Linked DNA regions of Homo sapiens: region 1 is linked to region 2. Evidence: promoter capture Hi-C in 16 types of primary human blood cells and fetal thymus (Javierre and others, 2016). All regions are on one chromosome and are shown on one strand. Each heading gives the region's core, a stretch centred on a gene start or on the middle of the fragment in contact. The rest is flanking DNA. Distances are from core to core; before and after follow the strand shown.

What was found. Contacts are between HindIII fragments. The CHiCAGO score rates a contact against its expected background, and 5 or more counts as called.
Region 1: a fragment that was not itself captured here is called in contact with the fragment with the promoter of APBB3 in region 2 in 1 of 17 cell types (non-activated CD4 T cells); the score reaches 5.4 in non-activated CD4 T cells.

Annotation. Positions count from the first base shown.
Region 1 is chr5:138,030,033-138,037,113 of GRCh38, forward strand. It overlaps FAM13B (family with sequence similarity 13 member B), which reads right to left and starts at 3,047. Exons shown (of 24, transcript NM_001385994.1): 1 at 2,750-3,047. It overlaps FAM13B-AS1 (FAM13B antisense RNA 1), which reads left to right and starts at 2,742. Exons shown (of 2, transcript NR_037900.2): 1 at 2,742-2,920; 2 at 6,161-7,081. It overlaps LOC124901077 (a long non-coding RNA gene), which reads left to right and starts at 3,107. Exons shown (of 2, transcript XR_007058952.1): 1 at 3,107-3,219; 2 at 3,463-4,641. RefSeq lists enhancers at 360-861, 2,076-2,135, 2,236-3,119, 6,227-6,436 and silencers at 2,626-2,695, 2,706-2,755. The HindIII fragment of the contact is 1,562 bases long and covers 3,171-4,732 here.
Region 2 is chr5:140,562,226-140,569,477 of GRCh38, forward strand. It overlaps APBB3 (amyloid beta precursor protein binding family B member 3), which reads right to left and starts at 2,373. Exons shown (of 13, transcript NM_133173.3): 1 at 1,972-2,373; 2 at 1,527-1,690; 3 at 1,369-1,445; 4 at 438-498; 5 at 128-274; 6 at 1-2. The coding sequence starts at 2,020. SLC35A4 (solute carrier family 35 member A4) reads left to right here and starts at 2,603. Exons shown (of 3, transcript NM_080670.4): 1 at 2,603-2,633; 2 at 3,648-3,746; 3 at 4,340-6,875. The coding sequence starts at 4,945. The coding sequence ends at 5,919. LOC131768270 (SLC35A4 upstream open reading frame protein) reads left to right here and starts at 2,603. Exons shown (of 3, transcript NM_001394034.2): 1 at 2,603-2,633; 2 at 3,648-3,746; 3 at 4,340-6,875. The coding sequence starts at 2,619. The coding sequence ends at 4,537. MIR6831 (microRNA 6831) reads right to left here and starts at 1,526; the gene lies at 1,446-1,526. RefSeq lists enhancers at 1,531-1,590, 2,199-2,805, 2,561-2,680, 7,078-7,252 and a silencer at 2,061-2,240. The HindIII fragment of the contact is 4,216 bases long and covers 1-3,524 here.

The sequences.
Region 1 (7,081 bases), core at 2,702-5,201, 2.5 Mb before region 2:
AATTATCTTGTCAGCTTACCACATTTTCCTCAGCCTAGGTCTTTTATACTTGCTAGTTCACTGACCTGGAACACTCTCCCACGCTTCCTCCTTCCTATCATCAGTTCAAGTCCCATCCTTGGAGAGGCTTTCTTCAACCCACTCAAACTAATGGTCTCATTTATTAATTTATCTAGGGTGTGGCGTTCCTTGGCTCCAAAATATTCATCACAGGTTTCTTGTTTTGTTTTTTGAGACAGGGTCTCACTCTGTCCCCCAGGCTGGAATGCAATGGCATCATCACAGCTCACTGCAGCCTCAAACTCCTGGGCTCAAGCAATCCTCCCACCTCAGCTCCCTGAGCAGCTGGGACAACAGGAGCATGCCACCATGCCTGGCTTTTTTTTTTTTTTTTTCTGTAAAGAGAGTCTCCCTATGTTGCCCAGGCTGGCCTCAAACTCCTAAGCTCAACTGATCCTCCAGCCTTAGCCTCCCAAAGTGCTGGGATTACAGGCGTGAGCCTGGCTTACCACAAGTTTTATTACATATTCATTTTGTGTTTGTTTAATGTCTGTTTCTACCAACAGAGTATAAGCTCTCCAAAGTCCACCAGTGGGTTTTTAAAAAAATACATTTATTAAGGTATAATTTACACACTAAAATTTGCACTTCAGCCTGGGCAACAAGAATGAAACTCCGTCCCCCCCCCCCAAAAAAAAAAATTGAACGTAAGGCTGGGCAAGGTGGCAAGGTGGCTCACACCTGTAATCCCAGCACTTTGGGAGGCAGAAGCAGGCAGATCATCTGAGGTCAGGAGTTTGAGACCAGCCTGGGCAACATGGCAAAACCCCGTCTTACAAAAAATACAAAAATTAGTCAGGCGCAGTGGCAAGCACCGGTAGTCCTAGCTACTCGGGAGGCTAAGTCAGAAGAATCGTTAGAACCTGGGAGGCAGAGGTTGCAGTCAGCCGAGATTGCACCACTGCACTCCAGCCTGGGCGACAGTGATGCCCTGTCTCAAAAAAAAAAACAAAACAGTAATTTACACTATTATAGTCCCCAAATTTAAAATTTGAATACGATGATGGAGGAGCTATGCAGCGATGGATTGAGGTTATTCATAACTGATTATAAAAGCAGTTATTTTATTGGTGGGGAAACACTGACAAGTCAACAGATTCATTTCAGCCATTTTCTCTCCTAAAACAATGACATTCTAATAAAAAAAACTAACATTTACACCACCCAATGAATTATGCCACTGCAATATGCCCTTCTACATTTTCCAAGAACTTAAGCTGTGTCACACACGTGTCTAAATTAGTAATAAAATTAAACTGGAGAAACTATTACTCCAATTTTAAAAGCAGCACGGATTAAAAAAGTAAGAAGGGGGCAAGGCACGGTGACTCACGCCTGTAATCCCAGAACTCTGGGAGGCTGAGGCAGGCGGATCACTTGAGGTCAGTTCAAGACCAGCCTGGCCAACTTAGTGAAATCTGATCTCTACCAAAAATACAAAAATTAGTCAGGCGTGGTGGCGGGCGCCTGTAGTCCCAGCTACTCAGGAGGCTGAGGCAGGAGAATCGCTTGAATCCGGGAGGAGGAGGTTGCAGTGAACCGAGATCGCTCCACTGCACTCCAGCCTGTACGACAGAGCGAAACTGTCTCAAGGAAAAAAAAAAAAAAGTAAGAAGGCGCTCCCAATGGATATACAAATAATTATCAGTCCATTCAATTCCATCAACAAGCACTTAGTAAATGCACAGTACCTGTGAGAAAACCAGGCCAACAAGCATTTCAAGGTTACCAAAAAAGGAAGGTTGAAAATAGCCTCACACTAACCCAGCTCTAAAAAGACAAATAATTCAAAACCACCCTTTAATGTCTGTCTCTCTAAACAGGTGCACCCCAGTTAATGTTAATAGTCTGCATTACTACTGGTAATGATTCTGGCTACCATTTTAGATTATCAGATCCTTCAAAGTAAATGCCCAACTTTTTTCACTGATTAGAAGGCGAAACGGGGAACCAAATGAAATAATCCACCGTCTTTCTAAAAGTCAGTTTGATTTTAACTGATTACAAACAAAAAGGGCTTAACAGTTTCCCACTGCGCAAATGTGCCAACCGATTCCTACAACCTCATCTAGGAAACCAGGCGTGCCACGCGAACCCTAATGCTATACAAAGTGTCCCCCTCCAGCCTGGCCTATGCAGAGCGCATTCTAGACAAGGCCCCAGTGCACCAACAGCCCAATTTTGGCTATATTCTCTGAGCGATTTAAGGAAGTCCGCAACCACTCATCTCACGTGACCTTAAAAAGGGGCGCAGTTGAGCCCAGAATAAAACACACTCCTTTTTCTTCTACATCAACTTCACTGCCCAGCATGAAGGAAGTGGGCGGGGAAGAGGCGCAGCGCCAGCGGGCAGGAGAGGTCAGCAAAGAAACGTGGGGTGTCGCGCCATCTACTCTGGAGGGGCTGGAGGTGAGGGGCACGCCCGCTCAACTGCACTGCAGCCGCTGCAAATCCAAGGCTGCCACACCCCCCGGCAGCCAGGGACACGGCTTCATCTTCCTCTTTCTCCAGCGGAAAGGGGGCCCTCTCCACGGAACGCCCCACCTGCTAGAGTCCTCCACATCCCGAAACGCAACGCCCGAGAGCAGGCGCGGGTGGCAGGCGGCGCTGGGGGGCAACAGGAGGGGAAGGGCCGCGGCGACCTGCAACCCGCGCATGCGCAGATCCGGGTACCCGCCCGTTTACCTACCGTTGGAACCGCGATGCCCCGTTCCCTGGCCGCGGCCGCTTCTCCAGGACCCGCGGCGACGGCAAGAGGGCGAGAACTGAGGCCCCAAGTGGCTCCGCGGCCGAGAAGCCTCTTCCTGGGGCGGCCGCTGACGGGAGGTTAAAGCTACGGCTGTGGCGCGGGGCCAGCCCGGTAAGCGACCCCCCGGATACCCCCGGCGGTGGTGGCGACGCAGACGCGGAACAGGGGGAGAGAGTGGCGACAGAGGCGGCGGCTGAGGTGCAGAGCCTCCCTAACGGCGAGCGGGAGGAGAGCGGCTGGCGGGCGGAGGCCGGGCCGGACGTGACGTGCGTGGGAGGGGGCGGGGCAGGCCGCTGGTGGGGGCGGGGCGGCGAGGGTCCCCACCCCCACAGCATTCCGGGCAGCGGCCCTGTGTCCTGCAAGCTTGAGGACCGCGGTTCCTCTCCCACCAATTGGGGTCCTGAATTAGGGTGCGAGCAGCCAGGCGCCATCCCGGGGCGGGTTGTGGGGTCCTCGGTATGGGGAGGTTGGGAAACAGAGAGGACACTGGGGAGAGGAAAGATAAAGGGAAAATCCGGAACACAGAGATCGCTTCTGGTCTCTGCGGAGGAAGCCAGGCCCCCAGGGCGCCCATATCCAGGTGAGGAGCACAGAGACCTGAACCGAAAACCGCTGGGGGAGACCTAAGCGGTGACTTCGGTTCCCATTCCCAGAGATGTGAGTTAGATCCGGGACCACGGGGCTGCACCTGCGTCCTGCCCGCCCCCACCCTACCCCTTCACCTCAGGACCTGACCTAGACTCCAGAGAGAACAGTAAGGCTTCGGTGCCTTAGTCTGGGACTGTGGAAGTCGATAGGCTGCGGGCTTACAGGGAGCTTCGTATACTAAAATCAGCCAGCTGCGGAGGCAGAGCTGAAAGGAGGCAGAAAGAATGAGCTCTCTGAACTTGCATGGCTACCCAGACCATCCCTACAACTCCCTTGAACTCACAAGGGTATGAATATTCAGCCAATCTCTTCTTTGTTATAGTCTGTTAAGGGCTTTGAGATCTTCCATTTGGACTCCTTGACAGCCGGTAGATCAACACCTGCACAAAAAATAGCAGCCACCACAATTCAGTTGTCCCTTACCTACCTGAGCTGGAAGTTAGTAACTTGGAAAATGTAAAACAAGAACCCTCATAGAACTTGGGACAAGATTTGAAAAAAATAAAGTTACCCTATGAAATGATCTGTAAATGGGCTACAGAGGCCACAGTGTCTCCCACATTTCATCAGAGAGAGTAAACCATGTGTAACCTAAGTGTCACATACCCAGTTAATGCTGTCATAACCGAAGGGTGGGGTCCACAAAGAGTCTAAAACCAGAAGAATCTGAATAAGAATGTTCTATGAGGCTCCCAGGAACTCTGTCCAGGAACGAGGCAACTGATTCTAATGACCAGAACCAACACTTACTCTCAGGGCAGTTAAATCTTAATTCAGATTCACTCACTCATTCAACAGATACTTAGTGAATGCTTACTATGTTCTAGTCTCTTAAGATACGTCAGTAAATCCCTGCCTTCGTGGAGTTTATATCCTAGCAAACCTAAATTCTGGATCTCCGTTAAGAGCATACAAAGGCCCATACTCTGATTCCAAACTCAGCTAGTAGCCTTTCCATCATTCAGGGAGTCTCTCAAATAAATCTACATACCCAATAAGAAGGGATTGTCCAAGGCATATAACTAGGACTAGTTATACTAGCTGTACAGTTTTTGTCAATAAATTCATATCATGGTTTACAAATCGGACACTGTTCACTGGGTTGAATTGTTTTATCCGAATTAATTTCTCAGAGCCTATTTAAACTTGAGCGAAGTGAAATAAAAGTTTCCAAATCTGCCAAACAGGATCAACAGAGCCTGATTTCAGAGCAGCCCAGTGAAGATGCAGTCTGTGCATTTAGCCTTGTATCTCTCTTTAAATATCTTAAATGAAAGCTTTACCTGTGATTCCATGCTTGGAGAACAGGAGCAATATGATTGCTTCAAAAGCTTTATCATAAGTGCGTAAAAGTCTTGAGAGTAAATCCGAAGAGAGTTAAAAACCTCCTCCGCCTGCCCCACATATGCAACACAGGCTCTTGTTGACATAACTGACTGTAATAAATACTTTGCTCTGAATATGAAACCTAAGATGTAAGCTCCCAGAGGGAAGGATTCCCTTGCCTTTTTTTTTTTTTTTTTTTTTTTTTTTTTTTTGGTGAGACAAGGTCTTGCTCTGTCACTCAGGCTGGGGTCCAGTGTCTGGATTATGGCTCAATACAGCCTCAACTTCCTGGCCTCCAGCAGCATTCCTACCCTAGTCTCCTGAGTAGCTGGGACTACAGGGACATGCCACCATGCCTGGCTAATTTTAAAATTTTTTTAGAGATGGGTTTCCCTATGTTGCCCAGGCCTCTCTTGAACTCCTGGCCTCAAGTGATCCTCCCACCTCAGCCTCCCAAAGTGCTGTGATTACAGGCGTGAGCCACCGTGCCCGGCCTCCCTTGCGTTTTTATACCCTACCCACAAAGTATGGGATCTCAAAAAACAAATGAATTGATCAATGACCATTTTCCCCCTCAAAAACTGCAGAACATATTCTTGGAAGATATATTCTCTAGATCCTACTTGATAATATAAAAACAGTATGTTCAACATAGGGGCCACATGGGCTATAATTCAAAACAAACACTTTTATTTTGTATCTTTTGCCATGCCTTTCAATTTGTGCAGTGGGAGTAGATCTGTCATGTACCTAATTGAAAACTCAGGCAGGTTCCATGAGTTTTTAGGGGTTCTGTGGTCTCCTTAGGAATAGAGTCCTGTTGTCATTGAGTCACAAAGAGTGAAATGTTTTCCTCTTTTTCAGCTGGGAACAGTTGTCTCATTGCTTGCCCTAAAGAGGGGACCATAGTCATCTTTAACCTGCCTAGTCTTTCTCCTCCCGGCTTAACTAATCATAACCAAATCTGGGGAAGGCAGGGAGAAAAAGGAGCAGGAAAGTTGTTAACTTTGTATGATGGTTTGACATTCCCTGGGCATGGTAGATGCTTAAAGCTGACTTATTTTTTCATGGATACCTCAGAGACTACCACCATCCCCCTTCTCTGGTGGTTTCTCCCCCATAATTCTATTGGTCTAAGCGTAAAGCTATTTTGGCAGTTATTTACTTCTTTCCACGCACCTCCAACTACTTGTCTGTTGAAACCTGGGCATCTCTGTAAAGGCCCTGTCAGATAGGATCTGAGATGACTCTCACACTCGTCCATTTGCAAGTGACCCTTTATTGTGGGACAAGGTTGTGCACTCCGTACCCTAGGGGGTGCCATTCACATCATTCTCACTGTAGTTCTGTATGTTATTTATTTTAATGTTTTTCCAGCAGGTGGCAGTAAAGTGTTTTGTCCAAACTAAATTACAACGACTGCTTCCCAATAGATGGAAGCAAAGCGTCTGGACGAAGGAGAGCTTTTTTCTCATGGTGCTGCTGTGTTAGCCTAGTGACAGCTCTGTATGGCCCACACCTGGTCCACAGGAAGCTCTCAGGCACCTCTTGCCCGAACAAACTTGGGAGTACAGGCTAATCCCAGTGCAGATTCAACATTCCTCTACTCTGCTGCCAAAACAGCCGCCAGCCTGTGGGAGTCAGACACAGGCCCACGGTGCCCCTCAGACTGCAGGAGGTACAAGTCAAGTGCTCTGAGCAGATCCATTGAAGGCCCACTCCCTCGACTTGAAGTAAAAGGCAGGCAGGCACCTGTGGTAAGAATCACAGCTCACCAGCAACAGTCTCCAAAGACATTGTCCTCAATAATTCTGGTTTGGCCTTTTATAACTAAATAACTGAGTATTTAATCTACCTGCTTTGTCTAAATCCTCTGAAATTTCTAGAGGGGGTCTATCTCAGAAATTACTTTAGTTTTTTGGTGGATGGAGGGAAGAAGATGGTTTCTTTTATAATAATCTTGTTGCTTCAGTTAAAACAGTGGTTCTCAACTGCGACAATTTTGGGGGACCATGTGTGCAGACATTTTTGGTTTTTTTTTAAACTTTTTTTTTCCTTCTGAATTCAGGATCTGCTGAATACAGACATTTTTGATTGTCACCACTGGAGAGGTGCTATTGGCTGGTGGGAGAAGGTCAAGGATGCTGGTAAACATCCTTTACGGCACAGGACAGCCCCTACAGCAAAGAACAGCAATTCTGTTTGTTACAGAGATGAGAGAATACCTCACTAAAAGAATACTTCAAAATTACATCACTTTTTCTTCTTTTTTTCCTACAAATTCTTTACCTGTAGATG
Region 2 (7,252 bases), core at 1,123-3,622:
CCCTGCCAAGGACAGAGGTCAGCCCAGAGCTCAGATAAAGGTCATTGCCATGAGAAATAGGAAATTCAGGGACAGCTACCTCTGCTGGGCCCTGGGCCCAAACCATTAAAGGGCCCAGCCAACTCACCTCACCCCAGGCACCATCTGGAGGCTGGCTCCGGCTGCGGGTCTGGGCCAGCTGCTGGATACAGTTATTGACTGCAATACTGCTCTTCCCCGGTGCCAGGTCCTCTTCAGGTACCTCTACCCAGCCCAGAGAGCGGACTGCAAAGCACTGACAGGTTGGGGGAAGGGACAGGAATTAATAAGGATGGAGTAGGGTGGCAGGTGCCACAATACATACTCCCTGTCTTCACCCTTGATCACCTCTGTTCAGTCCAATCCCACCCTTGTCTTTCCCTTGGGACCTCCCAATGCCCTCAGGCCCAAGTCACTACCTTAGCCCCTGGCTCCATGCTCTGGATGTAGGATTCCCCACCATACCAGGACAGAGAGTTACTGAAACAGAGCAGAGCTGTTAAGAGGACCACATTTCCTACAGTAGGGACACTGGTGAGGCCTAGACAACTTGATAAGCACAGGATGAGGGGCAAGACCCAGAATATAGCACCAGAAATATAAAACCAGAGCAGGGTAGAGCCCAGGACATATTAACGTAACATAAAGTGTGACTCAGAATTTGAGGGAAAATTCAGGACATAGGACCCAGACACAGGACATAGAATAAAAGTCACAAGGCTAGGTGCAGTGGTGGCTCACGCCTGTAATCCCAACACTTTGGGAGGCTGAGACGGGTGGATCATGAGGTCAGGATATCGAGACCATCCTGGCCAACATGGTGAAACCCCATATCTACTAAAAATACAAACATTAGCTGGGCATGGTGGCATGTGCCTGTAGTTTCAGCTACTCAGGAGGCTGAGGCAGGAGAATGACTTGAACCTGGGAGGCGGAGGTTGCAGTGAGCCAAGATCGTGCCACTGCACTCCAGCCTGGATGACAGAGTGAGACTCCATCTCAAAAAATAAAAAATAAAAGTCACAAAATAGAACAGGGTCCAATATGTGGACCAGAACCCCAAAGTGGGACAAGAGACCCTAGAACAGAGGACTTAATGGCCAAGGTCTAGAACATGATAGGTTAGGACCAAGAATATGAAAAACATGTAGCTACAAACAAGAGCTTAGAACAAGGGATAAAACTCAAAATACTGACAGTTAAGAACCTGGGACAGAGCCAAGAACGTAACAGAACCCAAAACATGTGACAGAATCCAGAACCTGGGCTGGAAAGCAGACCATGGGTCCAGCTGCATTTTTGAACACCATGGAACCCCAAGCCTTTCATTTTGCCTGGGCCACCCGTTACCTCCGGTCCAGTGAACTCTCCAGGCTGGAGAAGGATCTCCCTTTGGGGGGCCGCAGTCCCCAGATCCCCTCCGTTCCCTGTAGAGTGGGAGTTAGTCAGTTTAACAGCAGACCTAGGTCCACACATGGGCTCAGACCTCCTCCTCACACTCTACCTACCGTGCCTGGGTCCTCTGCATCTCCTAGTTCCCAGGTTGGGCGCTGCCACTGGGTGCTACCGCTGGGTACATGCCAGTAGTAAGTACCTGCAGCATCGTGGATCTTCCTCCAGCCAGGAGGCAGGCCAGCCTCCACCTCCAGACTGTGGTCCCCCCACAAGTCATCTACAGGAACACCGGATTAGAGAGGAGGGAGCATATGATTTGTGAGTTCAGAATAACATGCTGTCATAATCCCCTCTCCATCCCCAAAATGGGTCAGTTCTTAGGCTGAAGATCCAGGCTCCTCAATCTTGAAGACATCACATGTAAAGACCGGGTTCATTCGCCCCCTGGTCCCTACACAGAGAGGTATCCCCCACCGTCTTTGAGCCCCAGAGTAGCCTTTCGGATTCCCTCGTCCTCCCTCAGCTCCTGGTCTTCCCACCGGGCCCCTCCGTGCACACCATCGCAGTTGACCAGAATGATGGCCAGCATGTAATCCTTGCCCAGCATAACCCCGGCTGCTCCCCGCCAGCCTCTGCCGGCCCGCACTCTCAGCCCAGCGCGACCTCTGGAGCTACTGCGCCTGCAAGCCCAGCCTCTCTGCGCCGCAGGCTGCGGGGCCAGCTGGCGCCGCACAAATACGGGGCGGGACACGGGGCGGGACACGGGCCGGTCCCGGGGGAGGGCCTGAGCCGCACAGCCCGCCCAGGGGTGGTGCGTGTAAACGGGCGTCTGGATCCCCGAATGGTTGCGTGTTTCCGTGTGTGGGTCCGGGGGAGGCCCACGAACGCCAGCGAAACCGCTGACACCACCGCCCAACTATGAACTCATCAGGCGCCTGAAGACCGACACGCCGAACATGCGCCGCGCGCACTCGCGCACGAGTGAGATCATCGCGCCCCGGTCGTGAGTGCGCTCACACGCAGCCTGAGACTCGACGGGAGGGGGTCACGTGGAAGTATCTGAGAGAGGCGTACTTGGCCACTAGGAAAGCACCTCCCCCTTTCCAAAAATGCTCCGGAAGTGCCTTCGCCCTCCGTAAAGATGGCCGGGGCAGTCGGCACGAGGGAGGCGGGGATGCGCCTGCGCAACAAGTTCGGCGGGGAAGATGGCGGATGACAAGGTGAGTGGCCGTGGGGGTGATCTGCAGCCGGGCGTGGTCTTCACTCTCCTTGACCTTTTTAGTTCCGGGGAGAAGCGACTCTGGAGCGGCTCAGGAGTGAGGATGTCCCTTGTTTCTTCTGCGGCTCCTGTCAACTGCCTCAACAGTGTGGAGTGGTGTGGGGAGAGCATTCGGCGAGGCGGGAGGAGCCGTGGATCCCCCAGATGTCCCCTCCTGGGAACCATCACGAACCCGTTACTAGCACAGACTCAAAAACATTCACCCTTAAACACTCCTCACTTTACCCCATTCCCTAGCTCCCGAAATTTTCTTCCCAGTGACACGATGTTTCCAATCACACGGACACTCACACCACCCTCATTCAAACACTCCTTTGCATACATTCTGAATTTCATACTTATATGCGATCAAAATCACTCAGTCCATTTACTTACACACTTGCCGACAGTCTTTTTTGTCATTCTCAGTCACATCCAGTCACTCACATTCAGTTTGGGATGTCCTTGGGAAGAAAGAGGTAAAGCCCATCCAGGAACCAAGACAATAAAATTGTCCAGGAAACTGCCTCGGTCCATTACTCACCATTGGTCTAGAAGCTCAGCATTACCCACACATTTACTAAATGTCAGGCACTAGAACATAGTAGCCAAGACAGACTGGTCACGACTTTCAAGGAGCTCATAATGGAGTCAGTAGTGGTTTCCTGATGGACCTAATTAAAGGTCCCTAGCTGTCCCTCCTGCCTTTCCTACATACTGCTTGCTATATAAAATTCTTGTCAAGGTTGATGTAAGTTACTGGTTCAGATCCCATCTGTCAGTCCCTTCCTGGCCCTCATTTGAATTCTGTGCTTTTCAATGCTTGTCTTTCTTTGCCACTGCCATCTCAGGAAGCTTTTATAGGAAAAGGTCTTTCTGGCTCACCCCATCCCCTCCCAATTCCCAGCTTCTGATGGAATTGAGCAAGGGGTGGGGCTTAGTCAGACTGCTGGAGCCAGCCTCTCGCTTGTCCTAGGATTCTCTGCCTAAGCTTAAGGACCTGGCATTTCTCAAGAACCAGCTGGAAAGCCTGCAGCGGCGTGTAGAAGACGAAGTCAACAGTGGAGTGGGCCAGGTAAGGACTGTCCCACCCCACCCCTGCCTTAGGCTTTATTGCCCAACATGCTCTTGAGAGTGTTAAATGGATGGTAGAGATTTCTTCAGCAAGTGATTATTGAGGGCCTATTCTCAGTCACCCTAAGGACAATTTTTCTGAATGGCACATGAACTAATATCTTAAGTAGTGGTTAAGTAGGTGAAGAGGGGAGGAAAGAACATTCCAGGCAGAACAGCATATGTAAAGGCCTTGTGGTAGGAAGTAGCATTATAAACATGAGGGGTGAAAGGAGGTCCATTTGGCTACAGTAGTTGGGGAGCATGCTAGGAAATGAGGCTGGAGAAACCGGCAGGGCTAGGGGCATCTCTGACCTTGTGTGGCGGTGGAGTTCTATGGTTGGAGCTTTCTGACCCCAGGGTTCTGAGATTGTGTGATCAGAACTGCTTGGTTCTTTTTCTGGCCCCAGAACCTTGGGAAAAATCTGGAGAAAATACCACGGTTGTCCAGGGTGAGGAGGAGCTGGTGGTGGAATGCTCTAATCCCAGCTTGAGTAGCCCCTGGACAGTCAGGAAGGAGCCTAGCTAAGTTTCCTTCTGCATTTTTCTCTGCAGGATGGCTCGCTGTTGTCCTCCCCGTTCCTCAAGGGATTCCTGGCTGGCTATGTGGTGGCCAAACTGAGGGCATCAGCAGTATTGGGCTTTGCTGTGGGCACCTGCACTGGCATCTATGCGGCTCAGGCATATGCTGTGCCCAACGTGGAGAAGACATTAAGGGACTATTTGCAGTTGCTACGCAAGGGGCCCGACTAGCTCTAGGTGCCATGGAAGAGGCAGGATGAGCAGCTCAGCCTTCAGGTGGAGACACTTTATCTGGATTCCCCAGCTGTCATCCATTTGCTATCTCCAACTTTCCTGCCACCTTCATCCTTGCCTCCCTTCCTGCAGATTGTGGACAGTAGTTCCTCAGCCTGCACCCTGGATTCCTTCTTCCCCTTCCTAGCTCCATGGGACTCGCCCCAAGACTGTGGCTTCAAGGACCACCAGCCCCTTACTCTTCAAGCCCTGACTGTGGAGTTGGTAGATGCCTCTGATCCTCAGTATTCTCTCTGGCAATGTTCCACGGCTTCTCCTTCCTGGGAGCTGGCTCCATAACTTGATTTTCCCCAAACGTGTTGCAATCCCTGCTGCCCCTTAGCCACCCAGGGTCTTGTGTGGGTATGAGTGTAGAGGATGGGGGTATGCCAGGCCTGGGCCGTCCCAGGCAGGCCCGCTGGACCCTGATGCTACTCCTATCCACTGCCATGTACGGTGCCCATGCCCCATTGCTGGCACTGTGCCATGTGGACGGCCGAGTGCCCTTCCGGCCCTCCTCAGCCGTGCTGCTGACTGAGCTGACCAAGCTACTGTTATGCGCCTTCTCCCTTCTGGTAGGCTGGCAAGCATGGCCCCAGGGGCCCCCACCCTGGCGCCAGGCTGCTCCCTTCGCACTATCAGCCCTGCTCTATGGCGCTAACAACAACCTGGTGATCTATCTTCAGCGTTACATGGACCCCAGCACCTACCAGGTGCTGAGTAATCTCAAGATTGGAAGCACAGCTGTGCTCTACTGCCTCTGCCTCCGGCACCGCCTCTCTGTGCGTCAGGGGTTAGCGCTGCTGCTGCTGATGGCTGCGGGAGCCTGCTATGCAGCAGGGGGCCTTCAAGTTCCCGGGAACACCCTTCCCAGTCCCCCTCCAGCAGCTGCTGCCAGCCCCATGCCCCTGCATATCACTCCGCTAGGCCTGCTGCTCCTCATTCTGTACTGCCTCATCTCAGGCTTGTCGTCAGTGTACACAGAGCTGCTCATGAAGCGACAGCGGCTGCCCCTGGCACTTCAGAACCTCTTCCTCTACACTTTTGGTGTGCTTCTGAATCTAGGTCTGCATGCTGGCGGCGGCTCTGGCCCAGGCCTCCTGGAAGGTTTCTCAGGATGGGCAGCACTCGTGGTGCTGAGCCAGGCACTAAATGGACTGCTCATGTCTGCTGTCATGAAGCATGGCAGCAGCATCACACGCCTCTTTGTGGTGTCCTGCTCGCTGGTGGTCAACGCCGTGCTCTCAGCAGTCCTGCTACGGCTGCAGCTCACAGCCGCCTTCTTCCTGGCCACATTGCTCATTGGCCTGGCCATGCGCCTGTACTATGGCAGCCGCTAGTCCCTGACAACTTCCACCCTGATTCCGGACCCTGTAGATTGGGCGCCACCACCAGATCCCCCTCCCAGGCCTTCCTCCCTCTCCCATCAGCAGCCCTGTAACAAGTGCCTTGTGAGAAAAGCTGGAGAAGTGAGGGCAGCCAGGTTATTCTCTGGAGGTTGGTGGATGAAGGGGTACCCCTAGGAGATGTGAAGTGTGGGTTTGGTTAAGGAAATGCTTACCATCCCCCACCCCCAACCAAGTTCTTCCAGACTAAAGAATTAAGGTAACATCAATACCTAGGCCTGAGAAATAACCCCATCCTTGTTGGGCAGCTCCCTGCTTTGTCCTGCATGAACAGAGTTGATGAAAGTGGGGTGTGGGCAACAAGTGGCTTTCCTTGCCTACTTTAGTCACCCAGCAGAGCCACTGGAGCTGGCTAGTCCAGCCCAGCCATGGTGCATGACTCTTCCATAAGGGATCCTCACCCTTCCACTTTCATGCAAGAAGGCCCAGTTGCCACAGATTATACAACCATTACCCAAACCACTCTGACAGTCTCCTCCAGTTCCAGCAATGCCTAGAGACATGCTCCCTGCCCTCTCCACAGTGCTGCTCCCCACACCTAGCCTTTGTTCTGGAAACCCCAGAGAGGGCTGGGCTTGACTCATCTCAGGGAATGTAGCCCCTGGGCCCTGGCTTAAGCCGACACTCCTGACCTCTCTGTTCACCCTGAGGGCTGTCTTGAAGCCCGCTACCCACTCTGAGGCTCCTAGGAGGTACCATGCTTCCCACTCTGGGGCCTGCCCCTGCCTAGCAGTCTCCCAGCTCCCAACAGCCTGGGGAAGCTCTGCACAGAGTGACCTGAGACCAGGTACAGGAAACCTGTAGCTCAATCAGTGTCTCTTTAACTGCATAAGCAATAAGATCTTAATAAAGTCTTCTAGGCTGTAGGGTGGTTCCTACAACCACAGCCATGATTGTCTTGTGTCTTCTGTCTGCGCAACTCCCCTCAAACAATTTTGTTCCTCTGGGGTCCTGAGTATCTTAATTCTGGGATAACTTTTAGACTAAGAAAAAATTGTTTTCTCCAAGCTGTTGCCAGTGGCATTATTTCCTGTGAGAGTTCCATGGAACTGAGACATTTCCCTGTCATAGAGCTTTTGAAATTTCCCTGGAGCACAAAACTTGGGCCCAGGGGAATGCGGAGAGAGTCTTGGGAACAGCAGGTGCTGGGCCGAGCAGGACAAACTAGACTCTAGGCCAAAAAACTCTTAAGAAAGCCGATGTGGTTTCGGTTTTCATTTCCTCTGGTTCCCTTACAATTTCTGCCTGTCATCTGTCTTAAAATCAT